3 separate regions of the Homo sapiens genome follow, and all the other regions are linked to region 1. Evidence: promoter capture Hi-C in human tissues and cell types (Jung and others, 2019). All regions are on one chromosome and are shown on one strand. The core of a region is centred on a gene start or on the middle of the fragment in contact, and the rest is flanking DNA. Distances in the headings are between cores, read along the strand shown.

Region 1 (4,252 bases), core at 14-2,513:
GGGGGAACAGCTTGGACAATGGAGACCCAAGAAAGCCATGTTCTAGCAGTGTGAATGTTGTGGATGCTGAAGTGCCAGGATGCAAGGTGGAGAACTGGGAAATGGCCCTGGAAAGGGGCCAAAGCCGGGTGATGAAGCACCTTGTCTACTGTGACGGAGCTTGGATCTCTCTTGTGGTCCAAAGGGAAAGGATTGCTGAATGTAAAGCCAATGTCACCAGAAAAGCTGAATCCACAAGAGAGTCCTGGAGTCCAAAAGAGCATCTCATGGGGAATCAGGAAAGTTCTGGCATTTGGCAGATTAAGCAAGTGTCTTGATTTGAAGTCCAGTTTAGTCCCAATACTCCCTCCCACACCCACCACATCGCACAATTTGGTTTTGTTTATTTACTCCAGGTTAAGGTAGAGTCTCTTAGCTTGGTTTGAGTGCTGTACTCTTCTCTCTGGTCTGATATTTGGAACTAAAGCCAAGCCAGAACTCCAGGGCCAAGGGGGATGTTGAAAATTGTCTGAGTCCCCAGACCACCCTGCCAGCTCATGGCAAAGGGAGGGATCAGAGGCCACAGGGAAAGCACTTCAGCTGCTCTTCACAGCATCACCCTCTCCCCATTTAATGGTTTAGGTTAACAGGACTTTTTCCTTGAGGCTTGGGACACGGAAGGGAGCCTCCCCTAAACCAGGCCCTTGGAGAGCAGGCCCCAGGGGAGCAGTGCAACTCACCTTCACACCCACAAGACGGCTCCTGACTTCTGCTCCCTCCTCCCCTCCCCAAAGTGGAACAGAGAGAATATGATTCCCCACGACTTCCACATCACAGTTTCCAAACAATGGGGAAATCGGAGGCCTCCCCGTGTGCAGACGGTGATATTTACCGCCAAATGCGAACCAGGCAGATGCCAGCCCCAGCACGCACGCAGGTAACTTCACCCTCGCCTCAACGACCTCAGAGGCTGCCCGGCCTGCCCCACACGGGGGTGCTAAGCCTCCCGCCCGTTCTAAGCGGAGACCCAACGCCATCCATAATTAAGTTCTTCCTGAGGGCGAGCGGCCAGGTGCGCCTTCGGCAGGACAGTGCTAATTCCAGCCCCTTTCCAGCGCGTCTCCCCGCGCTCGTCCCCCGTCTGGAAGCCCCCCTCCCACGCCCCGCGGCCCCCCTTCCCCTGGCCCGGGGAGCTGCTCCTTGTGCTGCCGGGAAGGTCAAAGTCCCGCGCCCACCAGGAGAGCTCGGCAAGTATATAAGGACAGAGGAGCGCGGGACCAAGCGGCGGCGAAGGAGGGGAAGAAGAGCCGCGACCGAGAGAGGCCGCCGAGCGTCCCCGCCCTCAGAGAGCAGCCTCCCGAGACAGGTAAGGGCGCAGCGTGGGGGACCCGTGCTCTTTCCCCGGGATCCCCTGTCCCCGTCCTCGCGATGCAGTCGGCCGGCTCCGGCTCCGAAGGCGGACCTGGGCGCCTCTGGCTCTCCGCGGTCCCGAGTTCTCGACAAACTTTCTGCGCCGACTGCGGCATGAGAAGCCGCCAGTAGCTGAGCTGGAGGGCCCACGTCCGGCCCCTGGGCGGACGGCCGCGAAGCTGCAGGCGCTGTCTCCAGGGAGCCGGCGGCCTCCTCTCCCCCAGGGGCTCGCGGCGGTCCGGAGGCTCCGAGAGCTTGCTAGGAGGTCTTGGGACAACCCGGTCTTTTTTTTTTTTTTTGAGACGGAGTTTCGCTCTTGTTGCCCATGCTGGAGAGCAAAGGGGTGATCTCTGCTCACCGCAACCTTCGCCTCCCGGGTTCAAGCGATTCTCCTGCTTCAGCCTCCCGAGTAGCTGGGATTACAGGCATGCGCCACCACGCCCGGCTAATTTTTGTATTTTTAGTAGAGACGGAGTTTCTCCATGTTGGTCAGGCTGGTCTCAAACTCCCGACAACAGGTGATCCGCCCGCCTTGGCCCCCCAAAGTTCTGGCATTACAGGCGCGAGCCACCGCCCCCGGCCAGCCCGGTCTTTTAGTATCTCTTGCTCCCAGTTTCCAGGATAGGTGTCACATCTTGAAAGTCAAATTCCATACACGCTATCGCAAATTAATGTTGGAAACGGGGCAGCAGAGAAAAGGATAAAAGTCATAATGAACGCCCTGCCTTCCGGATTTTTTCGGATTCAGACCCCTGAATCCTTGTTTCCTTGCCCACCTTAGCGCACCCGAGGTGGCCGCGCTATGATAATTACATGATAACTGGGTCAATTACAATGCAGAATAGTTGGGTCTCTTCTCTCCAAGACCTAGCTGGGGTTAAAAACAGGTGGCCGGGGCGGGAGCTGTCCTAGATCCTGAAACGCACTGTCTAGTTTCGGATGCCCTCAACAGAACCGGGGTGGACGGTTTATGGCGCAGATCCTGGGTTGAGGGCACGGGCAGCCATTTGGAATGATCAAGGCTCAGGTAAGGGGCGTTTCCAGCGAAGGAGAGACAGTCCACTTGGCATTTGGATTCCCCAAATTCTTCATGTTTAAATGGGGCAGGGAGGGTTCTTACAGAATGGCTGGAAGGAGCCAAGGAAAATAAAAGTGTGTGTGGATTTTTTTTGTGTGTGTGTCAGTTTATAAACTCTGCACAGATTATGGCCACTTTAATGACTTACTGTTCCTTTGATGCTTTTGTTATAGGACTCGATGCATGTATGTCATGGTGTAAGGACAAAACTCGGCCCCTGTGCTCCTCTAATCTTTACAAAAGGTCATGGCCAGCGTGCAGTTTTACAGTAACAAGCAAAATGATTTGTTGAGCTCATAGAGAGCCCCTCACACCTATGAAGTTCTAATAAGTGTAGTTCTACTATAAAGTTAATCTCAGGATGAGCAAATTTCAAGTTTCTATTTTTCCAGAGCTTTCCATTTTTGGATTATAATACTTTCCCTACTTAAAAAAGCACAACATTTGATATTTCCCCAATAATTTGTTGCTTTAAAAATGACACAAAAGGTACTATTTGTTCATTGTAGAGAACTGAAAATACACATAAGCAAATACACATACACATAAGCAAAATATACAATACAAACACAAGACCATCTTTCAGGGAAGAATCTGAAGTTTTAGCAATAGCAGCCATCTAACCAGTTTAGCAACAGAATATAAGCTCTGAGAGGGTGGGAGTGAATATGTTACCACATTGTACAACACAGCACATAGGGCATAAGGAGGGGAAATGCTCTCTGGGGCTTTCCAGGAAGGCCTGAAGTCATTGCTTCTAGCAAATGGAAATCACTCCAGAGTAGTTATCTTTGACAAGAATTGAAATATAATTGAGGGAACTATCAGACCTGTAAGATTTTGTTTTTTCCTTTACTAATATGTTACTTTACATTTGCATTTGGTGACATACGTAACTACCATTTTTCTGTGACTGTAACATCTGGGCATTTTTCAGAGCTAAATGTGCTATGGTCAACTTGGAGCTTTAATCTAATTGCCTGGTCCACCAAGTTCTGGCTGTGTACTTGAATAGATCACTGGCAGGGTACAATGGGAACAGCCTGTCCCTTGGAGCCAGGAGAGGACACCAAGGTTGACCAAAGCTCGTTCAGTTGCCCCTTTAGCCGAAGCGCACCTGGGCCAGTCACTGGCTGCCAGTGCCATCTAATGGCTGCTCTGAAAATGCTCAGCCTTGCCCGGCAACCCTTCAGAAGCTAGCACCGTGCAGGCCCAGCGCCTGGGGAATAGGGCGAGGGTGGGGTAGAGAGAAGGAAGTGGCCTCCTGAAGTAGAAATCAGCGCTTCAGAGGACTTTCACTTCCAAAGCCTCCCCTATATAAAAAAGATTTGGCCCACGCCTCCCCAAATGAGAGATTTATTTTAGGCAAACTTATTTTAAAATGCCAGCGTTCATTAGGAGTGACAAGACACTTAGTCATCCACGCTTTAATGTGAATTACTTTTCTCATCTAATTACATTTCTTTCTAGCAGCTGGCTGAGAAGATCTTCTGAAATCCAAAATGATTGTAGGGTTGGCGGTGAGCTGATCTCCGGCCTCGAGGTGGCTTCAGGGGGCCCACCTGGTTAAGGGAAATTTGGCAGTGCGAGGGTAGTGCTGGAGAGAGGGGTGGGTACAGGGGGCTAGGGGCACCATGGATGCCCCCTCCTTACTGTCCCCTGGTGTCTTGACCTCAGCTTCTGCCCACAGGCACTTGCTGGATTCTCCAAAAGTATCTGCAGTGGCTGTTCCACCAGGAGGTAATTCCCTTCTGGTCTCTTTCCCCTCCACATCTGCATCCTCTT
Region 2 (3,946 bases), core at 535-3,034, 700 kb after region 1:
CATGTTGCTTCTTTTCATATTATTTGGGCTACTTCTGGCATCACCAAAATTTATAGCTATACATCACTTATTCCCCTGAAGGTAGTCCCCTGGCTACAAGCACCCTTGAATTTGAGACAGATGGCATAAATACTACATCACCTTGGTACTTAGGGCAGGGTCTGCAAATTCAGTTAATAGACAGTCTTGGATATAGGGCCTGCAGGGATTGCATTTTCCAGAACAGGAAATAGAAAACTGATATGGGCCACAAGGGAGTGATACCATGAGAGCAGCATCTTCACACATTATTTTTCCAATTATCCACAGATATTTGCTATTCAAGTGGGGCATGGGAATTACTAAGGTAATTACTAGCTGTCCCAACAACTGCTATGTGGACCCTTCATTCCAAAAAAAGGGAAGAAGATATGAAAGAGAGAAAATATGCAAAATAAACAATATTCTAACCAATGCCTTTTGGATGAATTAGAGCAGAAAAGAACAGAAATGTGGAAAACAGGAGATGCTTGCAGTGACTCACAAATGAGCAGATGAGGGCCTGAACCAAGAAGGCAGTTGTTTAACTGCTTTGATAATGGCAAGTATGAGACATTGTAGAAGAAAAAATTAGGATAAGTTTTTGATGAGTTAGACATGGGACGTGCAAGAGAAAAAGGAACAGAAAGAATGATGAGGTTATTAGCTTGAGAAGCAGGGTAGTGCCTCTGAGCTTAAGGCATAGGACCGAGAGTGAGAAGACCTGTCCCTACCACTTTGAACAAGTGACTTAACCCCTCTTAGCCCACTCTTCTCATTTGTAAAGTGTCTCTGCTCACCACATAGTGGTTTTGTAAGGCACAAATAAGATGATGTGCAGGAAAGCTGCAATGTGCTGGACAAGTGAAAGGCAGTAATGTTCATCATCATCATCATCAGTAAGGAAGCTGGAAAGGGAATATAATGTGACTAAGAGTATGAGAAATTCAATTTTAAATATGCTAAGATGTTGGCTTAACATCAAAGTGAAGATAACAGAAAACTAGCTAACGTGGGGAATGACTTAAGGAGTTAATGAGTCAGGGCCATTATATACAACAACAACAACAACAACAAAATATGTTTCCATAAGAGGCCAAGTCTAATCTGTCATTGATGGGCATTTAGGTTGATTCCATGTCTTTGCTATTGTGAATAGTGCTGTAATGAACATACACATGCATGTGTCTTTATGGTAGAATAATTTGTATTCCTTTGGGTATATACCCAGTAATGGGATTGCTGGGTTGAATGGTAGTTCTGCTTTTAGCTCTTTGAGGAATTGCCACACTGCTTTCCACAACAGTTGAGCTACACTCTCACTAACAGTGTATGAACGTCCCATGGAATACTATGCAGCCATAAAAAAGAACAAGATCATGTCCTTTGTGGGAACATGGATGGAGCTGGAAGCCATTGTCCTTAGCAAACTAATGCAGGAACAGGAAACCAAATAGCAGATGTTCTTACTCAGAAGTGGGAGCTAAATGATGAGAACACATGGACATAAAGAGGGAAACAACAGACACTTGTGCCTACTTGAGGGTGGAGGGTGGGAAGAGAGAGGATCAGAAAAAATAACTATTGTGTACTAGGCTTAGTACCTGGGTGACAAAATAATCTATTTAACAAACCCCCATAACACAAGTTTACCTATATAACAAACCTGCACATGTCCCCTGAACCTAAAATAAAAGTTAAAAAAAAGGGGCCAAGTATTCTAATTTATTGAGCTGATTTGGGATATAAGGTCAACTGTGGAACTGAGGCATATAATCACTTGCATAGTAGAATAAGCATACGCAGCACACCTGAGCAATAGCGTTACTGGTATTTCTGTGCTATGAGAGCCTGGATGTGGCTGCCTTAACACTACAGACCCTTGACTGGAGCTTCATTCATCAATGTCCTTGGATGTCCACCTATGAAGTGCACAAAAAGAGCAAAAGCAAATTTGACTAAAATGGGAAGGGGAAATGGTGTAGGAGTAAACAGTAAAAAGGAAAAGAAAGCCAAGATAAATGTAAGAAAGTAAAAGGAGATGTTGAGTAAAGGATATTTGTCCATGGGATGCAACTATAAATAAACCAGGGAGAAAAAAGATTTTTATGTACTTAAGAATGGAAATCAATGAACTGGACTGAGTATTGTATCAAAACTGTAAGGCATATGATTGTGATGGAAGACACCTCACTTCCTTTTCCTGAGAGAAAGCCACAGGTAATCACCCTTTGTAAAATAAATCATTTTGTATATATGAAAAGAGAATTTGCTGTTTGAAGGAATCCCATGATGGTTCCTCATATAAAGTAAGAGTTCACTTCATAAAGCAAACAATCACTCCCATTTGTGAAATGGATGAATTGGTTGATTGCACAATTTATCACTTGTGTATAGACCTGTATTGTCATCTACTAGGACTCTGTAGATCAAAATAAAGATGACGTTGAACCTGAAGTTCAGCTAGAGATAACCCATTTTCTACCTTCTCTCCCAACTACCTCTTCTTGAGTAAGTTCCCTGGAGATGCCACACCACATCTCCCTCCAAAAGTAACCAAAAAATGAATGACTGAAGAAAGAGGGGGCCCCCGGCCTGGGGCCATCTGGTGCGAAATGTGAGCTAAGCAAGTTGCTTTCCCTCTCTCAGGACTTAGGACTGAGGAAAAAACAAAGCAGTGGTGGCTGAAGTCAAAAGGATTGCAAGTTGCCAACCAAAGTTCAAGAGACAAGAAACAATGATAATGCAGACGAAGCTGCCAATAGACAGGAAATGGATCTGTAGGAAGAAGCAGAATATAGGAGCTGTGAGATCAGGATCTAGGAGAAAAGATTAGAAAGTCACTCTTAGAAAGGGCTTTACTTTAAAAGCAGTTTAAGTAGAAGGCCAGCAAGAGAAGCCAGTTGCAAGGTATGTTGATGCACGGGTGGGTGGAGGTGACGAGAGAATATCACTGCTTGGGATTTCAAGAGACTGAGTGGAATGTGACCGATCCTGTATGGGAGGATGAAGTCTCAAGTATGTAGGGAAAATAGGACTTTGCTTCCCTGTGAGCCAGGTGAGCTAAGAACTGGACCTGCATTTAGAATGGGGGGTAAAATTGACCTGATAGAACTAAAAACCACATGATAAACTATTTATTAAACAAGCTTTTAATAGGTTGTTAGATTAATTTAAGTTAAAACAATGGAACCATGTACCTGCGACTTACCAACTTCATGTAGTATATCATCTAAGATTTCCACATGCTGTAGTAACCTGGTTTTGCAATCTCACTCAATTGTCCATGTAAGCAGGAATAAAAGAAAGAAATATAGCAGAGGCCCTAAAGAAAATAAAAAGAAAAGTAAGTCTGCACTCTTAAGGACATGGTCAACTGTTTGAAAAATGCTTCTTTTTTGATAAACTTAAAAATCTTACCCTCTCCCAAGATTCTGACACTATCACCTATCACCTCAGGGCAATGTTTTTCAAACTGTAGGTCATGAAATCAATTTGGATGGTCATGACCAGCATTTTTTAAAAAGAATAGTATGTACTGTTATTTTAAAAAAGATGTTTTGGTTGTTTTAATTACACACACACACACACACACACACACACACACACACACAATGTGTACTGAGTGAAGATGTAAAATGTATTTCTTACTGTGGTTCACAACAAAAAAGTTAGAAAAACATTTCCCTCTCCCTGGCCTCTCTATTGAGATTATTTTATTTTCTGCATATGTCCAGTTTTACTTTTTTCTTTTTTGAGACAGAGTCTTGCTCTGTCACTCAGGCTGGAGTGCAGTGGCTTGCTCATAGTCATTGCAGCCTCGACCTCCCAGGCTCAGGTAATCCTCTCATCTCAGCCTCCCTAGTAGCTGAAATTGTAGGTACACAACAGCATACCCGACTAACTTTTTTTTTTTTTTGAGAGGGAG
Region 3 (3,941 bases), core at 15-2,514, 740 kb after region 1:
CAGAGAAAGCTTCTCTAAGGATGTGACATTTAAGTAAGACCTGTGCAACAGAAAGGAGCCCACCTTGAGAAGGAAGACCAGAAGGATGAGCATCTCAGACAAATGGAACAGCTACCCCCAGCAAGAATGCATTGTGCACACTGGAGAAACTAAAAGAAGCCAGGAGTGCCTGGAACACTGTGGGCAAAATGGGGAGAAGAGGATGAGATGAGATTGCCTAGGTGGGCAGTGATCAGGTAATGTAAGACTAGATTTGAAAATAATACAAAGTTTGAGGCTGGGCGTGGTGGCTCACGCCTGTAATCCCAGCACTTTGGGAGGCCAAGGCGGGCGGACCACAAAGTCAGGAGATCAAGACCATCCTGGCTAACACGGTGAAACCCCGTCTCTACTAAAAATACAAAAAATTAGCCAGGCGTGGTGGTGGGTGCCTGTAGTTCCAGCTACTTGGGAGGCTGACACAGGAGAATGGTGTGAACCTGGGAGGCGGAGCTTACAGTGAGCCGAGATGGCGCCACTGCACTCCAGCCTGGGTGACAGAGACTGTCTCAAAAAAAAGAAAATAATATAAAGTTTGATTGGTCTTTAAGCACATTGTACACACACACACATGCACACACAATGTGAATGTGCATGCACACACACAGACACACACACACACAGTTCCAAAAATGTTTCAAGCTTTGGCAGAACTGCTGGAAACTATGACTGCTTTGAAAGAAATAACATTCATTTGGAAGAAGCTTAAAAACTCATTACTTCATATCCACATCTAATACTTAATTTGACTAGGAAAATCTAAAGAACAAAAGGATATTTGCAAACTGTACATGAGCTCTAAGTTTTATCGATGGTATCACTTAACAGAGTGTAGGAAAAGCCATGGCCAGGGACTCCCAGAGAACAGTTTAAAAACAAGAAACTCCGTGATAGCAAGCAGAAGGGGTGAAGCAATTCCCACTCTGAGGGGGTGAGGAAGGACAGTTTTTGCTGTGCTTCTGGTTAGGCCAGAGGTGTTTGCTTGCCACATTCTTGTCATTGGTTCTGGACAAGGGGCCCCTCTCGTATTTTATATTGCCATTTCCTCAATCTTCACTTCCATAGGCATCCTCTCTAGTATGTTTGGAATATGTCCTCAGAGAGAGTTATTTATCTTTGATAGATACGTGGGTTGTTCCATGAATGTGATTTTAACTAGCCAACATGATATTGTTCTATCTCTCATTTATTCACACCGTACTATGAATTGTAGTTCATCCATGTTGCTCCGTATATCTAATTCATCACTTCTAATTGCTACAGAGTGTTTTGTGATAAGGACCCTTCATATTTTAGTTATTCATTTCCCTAGAGATGGATACTAGCTTGATGCGCACTTTTTTTTTTTTTCTTTTTTTTTGGAGACGGAGTCTTGCTCTGTTGCCTAGGCTGGAGTGCAGTGGGTACAATCTCGGCTCACTACAACCTCTGCCTCCCAGGTTCAAGTGATTCTCCTGCCTCAGCCTCCCAAGTAGCTGGGACTACAGGTGTGCACCACGACGCCCAGCTAATTTTTGTATTTTTAGTAGAGACGGGGTTTCATCATGTTAGCCAGGCTGGTCTCGAACTCCTGGCCTCAAGTGGTTCACCCACCTCAGCCTCCCAGAGTGCTGGGATTACATGCAATGAACATCCTCATAAAGGTGAACTTTTGGGCCTGAGGTGAGCTTCTCTTGGGGGCTGCAGGGCCAAAAAGGCTCCTGTCACTCAGCTTCTCTGGGGAAGGTTGGATTGCTGTCCTGAATGAATGCACTAGTCCGTGTGCCCATTATATTTTCACAATTGATTTCTACAGAATACACTGAGTCTTGGGGACATTTGGTGGCATATTCAAGGTCAAACATGTACAAGTCTCAGAATCAAGATCCAAGTCTTCCCCTTCAGTCTACAGCTTTTTCCATTGGGAAAATGCCTTTCTGAGGAAGCTGACACTTACCTACATGATGTTCATAAACACAGACACCAAGTTTAGTTGAATTACTCTTTAAGGAGTATAATTATCCTTCTCTGCCCTCATTCCATGATGATTGATTGAAATGCAGACACAAGAGACACTAGGTTTTTTTCTTTGCGAGGTCAAGGTTTTATTTCCTTTCATCATGAAATCACCTGTTCTAAGCAAGTATGTGCTAAGGATAAGTTACTTCCTTTCCATGAAGGAACTTACCATCTAATTTCCTTTCATAGCACAGTCAACAACAATACAGATAGCAGATTTTGTAAAATTCTCCTGTAGTTCTGTGTTCTTGCATCTGCATCCCATCACTTCAGAATCCCGCAAAATCGACAGCTTTACCTGGTTCCTGTTCTCCATTTCCAGAGACTACAAACTCCCTCAAACTTCAGGTCCCCAATATCAGTCATTTAGGAAGACATTTTTGAGGCTGGTGGACACTGCCCAATGTGTATGTAGCACAGTGAGTTTGTTGAGAGCACAGTGCTTTCTGAGCAGGTATGACAGAACCAAAAACTGAATCCATTTTAGCTACAGTTGGTTGTGCCCTTGGGTTTGAAATAATTACTTTCCTAGACATGTGGTTCCCAGATGAAAGCCATGCTGTGATTTGATTTTTTTAAATGCAAAAAAAAAAAAAAAGAAAAAATTCTGTAGCAGAAAATTCATCACCAACATGTTAAGGAATTTGATGACTAAAAATAATCTCCCCACAGAGTGCATTAACGTGGTGTGCAGATTTGGGAAAAGGATGAACCCACTGGGGAGTCTGTATGATTACACCTGTAATCCCAGCACTTTGGGGGGCCAAGTTGGGTGGATCATGAGGTCAGGAGTTGGAGACCAGCCTGGCCAACAGAGTGGAAACCTGTCTCTACTAAAAATACATAAAATTAGCCAGACAAGGTGGCAGGCGCCTGTAATCCTAGCTATTCGGGAGGCTGAGGCAGAAGAATTGCTTGAACCCGGGAGGCAGAGGTGACAGTGAGCCAAGATCACGCCACTGCACTCCAGCCTGGGTGACAGAGCGAGACTCCATCTCAAAAAAAAAAAAAAAAAAAAAAGAAGAAAAGGAATGACATCAACAATGAACTGGGGCAGCTTTTGACTTGCTTAGCATCAAGAGGCTGTCCCACATGACAAAACAATATTTGAATCAATTAAATAACAGGTGATTACAAATATTATGGATACTAGCCCTCGAATCAAATTAACTCCCTAAAGGCAAGTTACAAGTCAGGGAGAGCTCAACACAAGATATTCTCAGCATCTTTTGATTCTGTGTTGGAATCTGGACTTGACAGTCAACTCCATACACAATTAGGTGGAGCCCACTCTTCCTTCTCAGAAAATGATTCTCCTAGTTCCTGGAGAAAAAAAACCACCTAGTTGTTTTAAAAGTAGAAAAGCATTAAAGCCAGGAATTACCATGGGGCAGGCAGGTAGCATGAGTAATGTTAGGTGAAGGTTGAAGACACTGACGTATTTAAACACTGAGTCTCTAAGCCCAAGGCCATTCATTATTAAGGCTCTAGGGACTTGGGACCAAATTTCGTCTGCATTAGTGTTTTTTTTGCTTCTGTGTTTGTATTAGCTTCAATGCGTGGTTTTTCTGTGTCCTGGGAGGGGCATGAAGTCTCTAGTTAGCCCTAGCTCCCCCACTCCCTGTTGTCTTACATCCCCACATGGTGGTTAATTTTATGTGCCGGCTTGGGTGGGCCATGGTGCTCAGATATTTTGTCAAACATTATTCTGGATGTTTTATGTGCAGGTGTTTTTTGAATGAGATTAACATTTAAATCCGTGAACTTTGGCCAGGTGCGGTGACTCACGCCTGTAATCCCAGCACTTTGGGAGGCCAAGACAGGCAGATCATTTGAGGTCAGGAGTTCAAGACCAGGCTGGCCAACATGGTGAAACCCTGTCTCTACTGAAAATGCAAAAATTA

What was found. The method cuts DNA at HindIII sites, captures the fragments that hold promoters and counts their contacts. A contact is called where the count stands out against the background at its distance.
Region 2: a fragment that was not itself captured here is called in contact with the fragment with the promoter of POMC in region 1 in 1 of the 25 tissues and cell types used here (pancreas).
Region 3: a contact is called between a fragment that was not itself captured here and the fragment with the promoter of POMC in region 1, in 2 of the 25 tissues and cell types used here (aorta and lymphoblastoid cells).

What each region holds. Positions count from the first base shown.
Region 1 is chr2:25,165,591-25,169,842 of GRCh38, reverse strand. It overlaps POMC (proopiomelanocortin), which reads left to right and starts at 1,263. Exons shown (of 3, transcript NM_000939.4): 1 at 1,263-1,345. RefSeq lists cis regulatory regions at 961-986, 987-1,160, 1,226-1,238, an enhancer at 1,147-1,166 and a promoter at 577-1,389. The HindIII fragment of the contact is 18,073 bases long and covers 1-4,252 here.
Region 2 is chr2:24,466,108-24,470,053 of GRCh38, reverse strand. No RefSeq gene overlaps it. Among named protein-coding and RNA genes, the nearest start is that of NCOA1, 23 kb to the left of the region's middle. The HindIII fragment of the contact is 6,412 bases long and covers 1-3,946 here.
Region 3 is chr2:24,424,134-24,428,074 of GRCh38, reverse strand. The region is part of intron 2 of LOC105374329 (a long non-coding RNA gene); the gene reads right to left. Among named protein-coding and RNA genes, the nearest start is that of NCOA1, 65 kb to the left of the region's middle. The HindIII fragment of the contact is 4,125 bases long and covers 1-3,326 here.